3 separate regions of the Homo sapiens genome follow, and all the other regions are linked to region 1. Evidence: promoter capture Hi-C in 16 types of primary human blood cells and fetal thymus (Javierre and others, 2016). All regions are on one chromosome and are shown on one strand. The core of a region is centred on a gene start or on the middle of the fragment in contact, and the rest is flanking DNA. Distances in the headings are between cores, read along the strand shown.

The links. The method cuts DNA at HindIII sites, captures the fragments that hold promoters and counts their contacts. A CHiCAGO score of 5 or more calls a contact.
Region 2: a fragment that was not itself captured here is called in contact with the fragment with the promoter of CXCL2 in region 1 in 1 of 17 cell types (fetal thymus); the score reaches 5.2 in fetal thymus.
Region 3: a fragment that was not itself captured here is called in contact with the fragment with the promoter of CXCL2 in region 1 in 3 of 17 cell types (fetal thymus, neutrophils and megakaryocytes); the score reaches 10.9 in fetal thymus.

What each region holds. Positions count from the first base shown.
Region 1 is chr4:74,097,611-74,101,096 of GRCh38, forward strand. CXCL2 (C-X-C motif chemokine ligand 2) reads right to left here and starts at 1,585. Exons shown (of 4, transcript NM_002089.4): 1 at 1,411-1,585; 2 at 1,189-1,312; 3 at 991-1,074; 4 at 1-161. The coding sequence starts at 1,510. The coding sequence ends at 146. The HindIII fragment of the contact is 3,135 bases long and covers 1,047-3,486 here.
Region 2 is chr4:73,345,973-73,349,458 of GRCh38, forward strand. All of the region lies in intron 3 of ANKRD17-DT (ANKRD17 divergent transcript), which reads left to right. Among named protein-coding and RNA genes, the nearest start is that of ALB, 57 kb to the right of the region's middle. The HindIII fragment of the contact is 8,702 bases long and covers 1-3,486 here.
Region 3 is chr4:73,569,764-73,573,249 of GRCh38, forward strand. RASSF6 (Ras association domain family member 6) reads right to left here. Exons shown (of 11, transcript NM_177532.5): 11 at 1,787-3,486. Among named protein-coding and RNA genes, the nearest start is that of RASSF6, 49 kb to the right of the region's middle. The HindIII fragment of the contact is 2,602 bases long and covers 234-2,835 here.

The DNA.
Region 1 (3,486 bases), core at 335-2,834:
AGAAGACTTCTCCTAAGTGATGCTCAAACACATTAGGCGCAATCCAGGTGGCCTCTGCAGCTGTGTCTCTCTTTCCTCTTCTGTTCCTGTAAGGGCAGGGCCTCCTTCAGGAACAGCCACCAATAAGCTTCCTCCTTCCTTCTGGTCAGTTGGATTTGCCACTGTAATGAGAAAATGGGTGCCCTGAGTAGGTGCTCAGGAAAGCTGACTGCACAACAGTCTTCTCCTGTCCTGTTTCCCCAGGCTCTAGAGTTTTCTGAATGCAGTTTCCCCAGCCTGGCACCCAAGTGGGTACTGCCTGTGACAGCTGTGCTGTGTGGCAAGGACCTCTAGGCTTGGGATGCTCTTTTAGGAATGGGGGTGACGTGGGGTGGAGGAGTGGCAGTCTACACTGTTTTACTGGCTAAAACAGCCAGAGCCTATTGCTCTTTGTCATACTGGGCCTCACTTGAGCCTCAAAGCAACCTCATGATGTAGCTACCATTATTTTCCCTGTTTTGCTGAGTCTCAGATAAACTAAATAATATTGTCTCTGAGTGACATGGCTAATAGGTGGTGGCAACCAGTTATATACCCAGTGCAATATTATTGTGAAATCTCTGCACTTCAACCCTAAACTTTTACAAAAAACCAGGGGGTCTGCTTTTCAGGTCTGAAAGTCAGTAGGAACTAGGGGAAATGAAGCTTGTGTTTTTTAACAGGTGGAAAACACTTCAGCACAACTGGCAAACTCCAATGAGACCTTACATGAAAGCAGTTTTACCTACATTCACTGGCAGGAGGGAAGAACCTGGGTGGTGACCCTGGGCACTGGGAATATCCTCTGGCACCAGAACAGATTAATAACCTTAATGGCAACTTTGTGAAAATAATAATTTTTTCAGTCCTGCAGCTAACCCTGGGTTTTCCTGATTTACTTTTTAGGGGGCAGACGCCAGTATTTCTGACCAACAGCTCCAGTCGCCTGTGTACATGGAAATTATAACTTACTTTTTCAGCATCTTTTCGATGATTTTCTTAACCATGGGCGATGCGGGGTTGAGACAAGCTTTCTGCCCATTCTTGAGTGTGGCTCTGCAGAGAGAAGGGAATCTCGTGAGACAGGAGGTCGGGCTGAGGACAGGGTTTGGGGCAGCGGGAGAGTCGGGGACCCCAGCAGTGGCAGCGGCAGCGATGGGCGAGACTTACATGACTTCGGTTTGGGCGCAGTGGGGTCCGGGGGACTTCACCTTCACACTTTGGATGTTCTTGAGGTGAATTCCCTGCAGGGTCTGCAAGCACTGGCAGCGCAGTTCAGTGGCCAGGGGCGCTCCTAGGGAAGAAGAGACTCGCTGATTGAGCGGGGCTGTCGGCGCGGGGCGCCCACCCCAGCCGCGTCCGGCCCGGGGACCCCAGGGCGCCGGGACCCACCTGCTGCGCGCCGGCTGGCGGCCACCAGGAGCAGGAGCAGCAGCGCCACCCGCAGGAGCCGGGGATTGCTGGGGGCGGCGGAGAGCGTGGCGCGGGCCATGGGGCTCAGCAGGCGGTTCGAGCGGCTGTGCGAGGAGGAGAGCTGGCAAGGAGCTGCCTGTGGCCCGGGCTCTGTGGCTCTCCGAGAACGGCGAACCCCTTTTATGCATGGTTGGGGCTGGAAAGCCCGGAGTCCCGGGCCAGGGAAATTCCCGGAGCTCCAGATCGATCCCGAGTTCGGAAGGAAGGCGATGGCCCCGCCTCTGGGGTGGAGGGGGGTCGGGGCACTCACGAGTGACGTCCGGGTCTGACTGTCTTGCGTAACTCCCGCCAACTGTGGGATGTTCTCTTTCTGCCCCGAATCCCTGGAGCGGGAGCGAGAGCCCGCCGCTCTCAGAGATACCGAGATAACCGCCTGCGAGGAGGCGCTTCGTGAACCCAGTGCAGTGCGTCGTGGGTCAGATCCCTTAGACCCACGTAGGGACCGCGCTACATCCTTACCGGGGGGAGTTACTTCTCTGGAAGACATTTCAGTTGTTGGGATTGAAAGTTAGGGCAAGAACTGCAGCATGTCTTATCTATCCTCTCTCTTTAGTTTGGGTTCTGCAAATTTCATTAATGTTTGAAATAAACGCACGCTTTAACAGTACATGTGTCATCTCAGATGACGCATAAGAGCTTTTGTCTCCTTCCTGGTGTTTTATGATCTTAAAAGCAAATATCACGTGTGTGTGTGTGTGTGTGTGTGTGTGTGTGTGTGTGTGTGTGTGTTTCAACGTAGTGGAGCCAGGTGTTGGGTGCGGGAACAGACCATTGCCAAGGGTCAATTCAGTGTTTATTTTAGTTAACAGTGTTGCAATCCCCCATCCTTTCTCTCTTTGAAATCTTGGAACATCTCGAACTCTAGTAATTCCAGTAGCATCAATTTTTTGTTGTATGGAAGTCTGTGTTTTGATCCATGGAAGTCACTGGGAGCTGCGAGGGGCCTGTTGGGCTCAGGAGGTCTGCCTTTTCTAGTGCTGTCCCTGGGCAGAAAAGGCCATAGACACCACCAGAAAAGGAGCAGGGAATGAGACTCCGCTTGTTTACTACTCTAAGCACAAGCAGACATGTCTGATATATACATACTAGATTGCTAACATAATTGCATTTCCATGCCATATGTATTTACCAGCATCCTGGGATTGGTTCCCTCTAGAGAAACAGCTATCGAGGAAATTTTAGTTCTAGAGGAATGTCAATAAAGCATTTCCAAGCCTGTTTAGCTGATGCCTTCTCACTGGATTACTGACTTTTCATCATCAATTTCAATGACCCCCTCTCTTTAAAAATTAAGCTGTAGGCCTACAATACTCTGTCTTAATTCTTCCTGGTGGATGCAGACTTCAGGGATATGGAGATATTCTGCCACTGCTATGAGAAGGGCTGGGAGTGGCACGAGGATGAAGAAGTGGGACTACCTTAGGAATAGAGTGTTCCCTGGATGCTGCAGCTGTAGAGATCACTTGATAAGGATGTCAGGGCTGAAGTTTCAGCCATACCACTAACTTGCTTCATGACCCTTGGTAATTTATGCTTTATTTGCTCATGTTTCTCCCCTGTAGAAGAGCTTATAATAGTGCCTGCCTCACGGGGTTGTTAGAAGTATTGATTGTTAATATGTGTAAACCATCAGTGCATGTAAAGTGTTATGTAAATATTTGTTAAATAACAAAATAGAAGTGGTGTTTCACAACCTTACTGATATAGGCTGGATGTTTGTGTCTCTTTCAAATTCAGATGATGAAGCCCTGACTCCCTTATGTGCTAATATTAGAAGACAGGACCATGGGAAGTAATTAGGTTTAGGTGAGGTTATGAAGGTATGGCCCCCATGATGGGATAAGTGCCATTACAGCAAGAGATCAGTGAGCTTTCGATCTCTGGCTCTCTCTCCCTTTCTGCATTGTGAGGACACAGCAAGAAGGCCACCATCTGCAAACTGAGAAGAGGGCCCTCACCAAGCATGAAATCTGCCAGGATCTTAATCTTGGACTC
Region 2 (3,486 bases), core at 645-3,144, 750 kb before region 1:
TAATATCTTCACCTTTAATTTCTTTCTAAAGTACCTAAGAATTGGAATTTTTTTCCTCAATAGTAACTGTGTGGGTTATACTCAGTTTGAGACATTTCTGATTCCTACAAGTAGAAGAAAAAAATTTTTTACAGTGATATTTTCTCTTTTATAGAAATTGTATTACTTATAAATTTCTTGCCTTATAAGTTATACACCATTTAAAACGCATTCGATGTTTAAATAATTGTCTGCAAGAAGCAGCAGCAATTCTGCAGGACTTTTGGCCCGTATTTAAACTGGATAGCTTTCTATGCACAAGCCTCTGTACTAAGTGGTAGTCAAAGATCTGTATAGTTAGCTCAATTCAGTTCCACGAACATAAATTGGGATCTTACAACAGGCTAACAGAACGGGCATCCATGAACAAAAGGCTGCATGTTTATGTATGAATAGAAAAAGATAGCAGACCATATCAACTTAAGCCACTGTTAATGATATTGTCTTAGTAAAAGAATGACAGCAATATGCTAGATGCCTGTTAAGCCTCCAAAAACACATTCTCAATCTGATTACAATAGCAACACTTTTTGTAAGACTTTAAGTAATACTTTAAAAAAAACTGTGGGCTAGGCGTGGTGGCTCACGCCTGTAATCCCAGCACTTCGGGAGGCCGAGGCGGGCGGATCACCTGAGGTCAGGAGTTTGAGACCTGCCTGACCAATATGGCGAAACCCTGTCTCTACTAAAACTACAAAACATTAGCTGGGAGTGGTGGTGCGTGCCTGTAATCCCAGCTACTTGGGAGGCTGAGGCAGGGGAATCACTTGAACCCGGGAGGCGGAGGTTGCAGTGAGCCAAGATCGTGCCATTGCACTACAGCCTGGGCAACAAGAGTGAAACCCCCTCTCAAAACAAAACAAAACAAAACAAAACAAAAACAAACAAAAAAGAACAACAAAAAACCTGTGGCATTATTATTACTGTTTTACAAAAGATTAGTTATTTGAATACATGAATTTTAGAAAATTCGCTTGCAGATCCTTAGAAGGGGTAGATATTATCTGGACAAGCCTATTGCACTGCACAATTTCCTAATAGATAATTAGTATATACATTTTATGGTTAATTAAAGCTAATATTTCTGAATAACTCTGAGCCTTTCTTTTGAATAGTCTGTGGTATTTTTCAACTTATTTTCTTCTTTTTATTACTTTCTTTTTGAACTTGCTGCTTTTCTCTCCAATTCTAATTTCCATTAAACTTGTGCAACTGAATTAGGTCATTTTAATATTGCTGCTAATAAGACACTTTTCAAATTAACATTCTAGTTCTCTTTGGATGGTTAGCTACTGATTCAAAACCAATAATGTTAAAATAACATTAATTAATGCAGTCCTTAACTTTGCCTAACAGCAATGTGATGTGAGAGAGAAACATGCTCTCCAGGTTTTGCATCTGACAACAGGCTCAGATAGGTTAAGAAACTGTTCAAATTGCAGAGCAATTTAGAGCAGAAGAGAGATTAGAATTCAAGTTCTCTTATTCCCTACTATGTTTGTATACCCAACATTATTTTGTCATCATTTAAATAGTGTTACAGAGCATTCCCACATACTCCAGAGAGGAACAAAGATTTACATATTCCAAAGTGTTAGGTCTCTCTGTCAAAATGTATTTGCATCATTTGTCTTTTGAAGTCCTTCATAAAATGTGTTTAGCAGAAACATTTCTTTAACTTTGTTGTAAAAAGCCATCTGGAACTCTTGGTATACAGTTGTGTAACTGAGTAAACATTGGAAATAATTTGTAATTTGAGACCACCAGATGGAAGAAAAAGATCAGAAAATTACATTAAGAAAATCTATAGGATCTATTTTTGTCTGTTTTAAAAACACTATTTCTCTAGAGGATTGCTATAGCTACATTATAGACTATCTGGTAACTTCAAGGGGGAAAATTGTTGGTTCAGTTTTACAGATGTTATCACATTACAATGTTTTTTCTTCTAGTTTATACCCACACCCCATTATATCTATTTTTTAAAAATATAATTATATATACAGTGAATATATTCTGATTCTTTACTATGATAACGTAAGCACTATATTTTCAACTAGAAAATTCAAAAGAAAAAGTTAAATTTTGAAATACTTTTAAAAATAATAAAAATGTGAGTCAATTATAAATCTGTCACTAAATAAGGACAGTTTTAACTGTGAAAGACTTTTCAGTTGTTGAACTAAAGAAAGAAAATAATTATAAGATAATATTTACTTTTCCAAATGAAAAAAGCATTTTTTTAATGCAAAGCATTTAACTATGAAAACCATGAATCTTTAAATTTTATCTATGTATATATTTTAAAGACAGGGTCTCACTCTGTCACCTAGGCTGGAATGCAGTGGCTGTTCATAGTTCACTGAAGCTCCAACTTCTGGGCTTAAGCAATCCTCTTGCCTCAAACTCCCAAGTAGCTGGGACCTACAGAATAGGACAAAATATTCACAAACTATGCATCCAACAAAGGGTCTAATATCCAGAATCTAGAAGGAACTTAATTCAACAAGCAAAAGAAGACATGAACAGACACTTCTCAAAAGAAGACATGGAAGTGTCCAACAAATGTATGAAAAAATGCTCAACATCACTAATCACCAGAGACATGCAAATCAAAAAACCACAATGAAATACCATCTCACACCAGTCAAAATAGCTATTACTAAGAAGTCAAAAAATAACAGATGCTGGTGAGACTGCAGAGAAAAGGGAATGTTTATACACTGTTGGTGGGAATGTCAATCAGTTCAGCCACTGTGGAAAACAATTTGGAGATTTCTGATAGGACTAGAAATTGAACTACCATTTGACCCAGCAATCTCATGACTGGGTATATTCTCAAAGAAAAGCAAATTATTCTACCAAAAAGACACATGTATTCATATGTTCATCACAGCACTATTTACAATAGCAAAGAGATAGAGTCAACCTAGGTGTCCATCAATGGTGGACTGGATAAAGAAAATGTACATACATATACACCATAGAATACTGTGCAGACATGGAAAAGGACAAAATTATGTCCTTTGCAGAAACATGGATACAGCTGGAGGCCACTATCCTAAGTGAATTATTGTAGGAGCAGGAAACTGAATAGTATATACTCTCACTTATAAGTAGGAGCTAAACACTGGGTACTCATGGACATAAAGATGGCAACAATAGACACTGGAGACTACTAGAGGGGGGAATAAGAGAAAAGAGCAAGGGTCTGAAAAACTACCTATGGGTACCATGCTCACAAGCTGGGTCATGGGATTAATCATACTCTAAACCTCAGCGTTATGCAATATACTCATGTAACAAAACTGCACATGTGCCCCCGAATCTAAAATAAAAGTGGAAATTATTTTTAAAAAAAGTCCAGCAGAAAAAGGTGAGTTATAGATGAAACAATTATATGCATCTGTATGATGCATATTTAAAAATTTTTCTTTACTATTGTGT
Region 3 (3,486 bases), core at 285-2,784, 530 kb before region 1:
AACAAGCTTTCTTCTTCTCAAGAGCAGAAACAGAAACATGAAATCAAACAGCTTTCAAAGGGCTCAGGTAGATGTGATGGGCTCTCACACCAAGCTGGGAATTGTCTGCCAAGTTTCCACAGTGAACAAAACCCTAAAAGCAACTTGGAGTTTTTGTCTATGCCAATACTGAAAATGTTTATTGCCAAACTGAATGAAATAAGCTTCATAATAAAGTTACCTTCCTAATCATAAGCTTCATAATAAAGTTACCTTCCTAAAGGTTTCACCTTTAATCTTTACCCTAAATATGTGATGCTGTATTGGCACCAATACAATATAATGCACTTAAATTAATTTGAGCTTGAAGTGATTATTTGTGATAGTACTTTTTTTCTTTGGAAATCTTTCTGCAAAAGACATAAAGAACTGATGGGTATCATTTGGACTTGTTTTTATTTTTCCAGATATTTTTGTATAAAAGATAAAGTAAAACTAAGTGCTTAAATAAATGAATTATTTTGATTAGAGAACTATAAAAAAATTAATTATCATTCTAATACCCTTTCCTTGAGTTTAATTATTTTTCCTCACTTCAGTGACTTCAACACATTCATATGCATTAGTGAATTAGATCCAATAAACATTTGCTGAGTACCTAATGCATTCAATACACTGTGCTAGATACTACAAGGAATAATACAAATATGAATATGATTTCACCAGATCACTAATGCATTTATACAAGATATAAGCACATAAAGAATTATAATAAAAGGCAAATTTCAAAATTCTGGTGTCACAAGAGCAGAGCTAACTGAAACTGTGGTACACAGGAGCTTGAGATCACACATTGTTACAGAGACCAGGAAAGGTAATGGAAGAAGGGACCCTAACCAGGGACTAGAAAATGGGAATGTTTCAACAGAAAGAGATGTGCTAAAGTGTGCAGTGTTTCAGGGAAGGCTGAGTGATTTAGTTTGGCTGGTTTTAAGACAAAAATGACATAGCTGTGGGCAGTAAGTCTTAGTAGAAGATAAGGCTACGATGGTGGTTGGGGAATATACTGAAGTTTAATTATAACATAGCTAATATTTATCACATTCTTATGTGCAAAGTGCCAGGCTTTACATGTGCTATTCTTGTAACTCCCCCAACTGTCCAATGAAGTAGGTACTATTATTCCACTTAAAAATGAGGACACATTTTAGAATGGCAGATTCGGGAAGCATAGTTCGGGGGAAGCCACAGATTATGGTGGTTAACTGTATGGCTTCTGGAGCCATAAGTTTAAATCCTACCTATTTCTTCTACTAAAAACCTTGGCAAATCTCCTAACTGCTCCATGGCTTACTTTCTTTATCTGTAGCATGAGGTTGAAAGAATAATTTCCTTATGGAATTGTAATGAATATTAAACGTAGTGCCCAGCAAATAAGTTGTTATTAGTTTGAACAATATGAAATCATTGCCTTTGTAGGTCAAATATTGGCAATTTCAAATGGCTCAATCTAATAGGTATTAGATGTTATTAATTTAGAAGACAAATGAATGTCATTGAAAGGTTTTGCCCTCTGTAACTACATCCTATTTCTTGTTCTTTCCCATATATATGCCTCCACCTAATAGTTATACCTGCTGTCTTTATCACTTCATCAATTGCATTGCAAGGGGCTTCTTTCCCCTTCAGTTTCAAAAACCAATCTAAATAGCCCTAAACCAAATTAAACAGTAATGACACCTAACTGAATATTTCATAGTAGAGCCAAGAGATAATAAAATATACCACTATATCAGGGAAAAACATATATATATATATAATGTTTAATATTTTTTCAGCTATGGGACCAGACTTGTAATAAGTAATACATACATATGGGGAATTTTATAAAAATATTTCAGATAATTCCTTCACTCATTCATTTATTCTTTCATTCACTTATTTATTCAATCAATTTTTATTGAGCACATCCTACGCACAAGACACAATATTAGGTACAGAAAAGCTATAAAGATAAATGTGACACATTCTTTACCATTAATAATAATATATATTATCTAAAATTTAATTTGAGCTAATATATAACTGACAATGAAATATTTGGACCACCTAAAACAAGGATAAATTATTCTGTGACAAGTTTATATTCTTGCATTATGCAAAAATGATTCGAAAATAAACTATTTTTTTCCCAGAAATTGTATGAGCTATACATTGCTATGTAACAAATTGCCCCAAATTTAGCGGCGTACTACAACAAACACTTCTTATCTCATACAGTTTCTGAGGATGAGGAATCCAGAATGGTTTCCTTGGGTTTTCTGGCTGAAGGTCTCTCATGAAATTACGGTCAAGCTATTAGACAGGGCTGCAGTCATCTGAAGGCTTGACTGAGGCTGGAAGATCTACTTCTAAAATGGCTGTTGACAGGAGGCCTCAATTCCCTGCTGGCATTTGATAGAAGGTCTCAGTTCTTCATCATGTAGGTCTTTCCAGGGCTGCTCAGGACATGGCAGTTGACTTCCCCCAGAGCAAGTGGTCCAAGAGAGAGCAAGGAGGAAGCCACAGTGACTTTTATGACCTACTTCAAAGTCTCACAGTCTCTTCCATTTTCCTGTATTAAAAGTAAGTCCCTAATTGCTAAAAGAGTACATTTTTAAATGTTCTCACCACAAAGAAATTATAAGAGGTTATGGATATGTTAATTAGCTTGATTTAATAATTCCATAATGTATACATATATAATAATATAATATTGTACCCCATAAATACATACAATTATTATTTGTCAATTAAAAATAAAATAAAAAGACGTAAGTCACTAAGTCCAGCCCATTTTCAGGATGAGGAAGATTAAGCTTCATCTCTTCAAAGGAGAAGAATCAGACTTTATGGATATAAAACTACCACAGAAGTGATGTTAATGTCTCATTTGAATAATTGATTTGAAATTTTTTGCATTTGGTAGAACTCTGTGCTTGCATGTGCTTGTTACTTTTTTGTTCATAAGTTTTAAATAATAACTTTACTATTTCCTGATGTAAAAAGTAACAAATATAAACTATAGAACACTTAATACAGATAGGGAAGTTAGAAAAACATGAATCACTCATAATTCTACAATGCAGATATAGCCATTTTTAACATGTTTTTATTTCTTGTGTGTATATATATGCAAATATTAGTGTTCACACACACAAATACATATATATATACACACACATACATATATAATATATATGCCTTAAGTACATAATAAATATTTTGGAACATGTGTATGTGTATATTCTTATTTAGATATATAAGAATTTACCCCTGTAATTAAAATTACTTGGAAACAGAATTTTAATGGCTACATAACAATATACAAATAAATGTTTATTTCCCTCTTTTTTTTTTTTTAGAGACGGAGTCTTGCTCTGTCGTCCAGGCTGGAGAGCAGTGGCGCCATCTCGGCTCATGCAACCTCCGCCTCCCGGGTTCAAGCGATTCTCCTGCCTCAGCCTC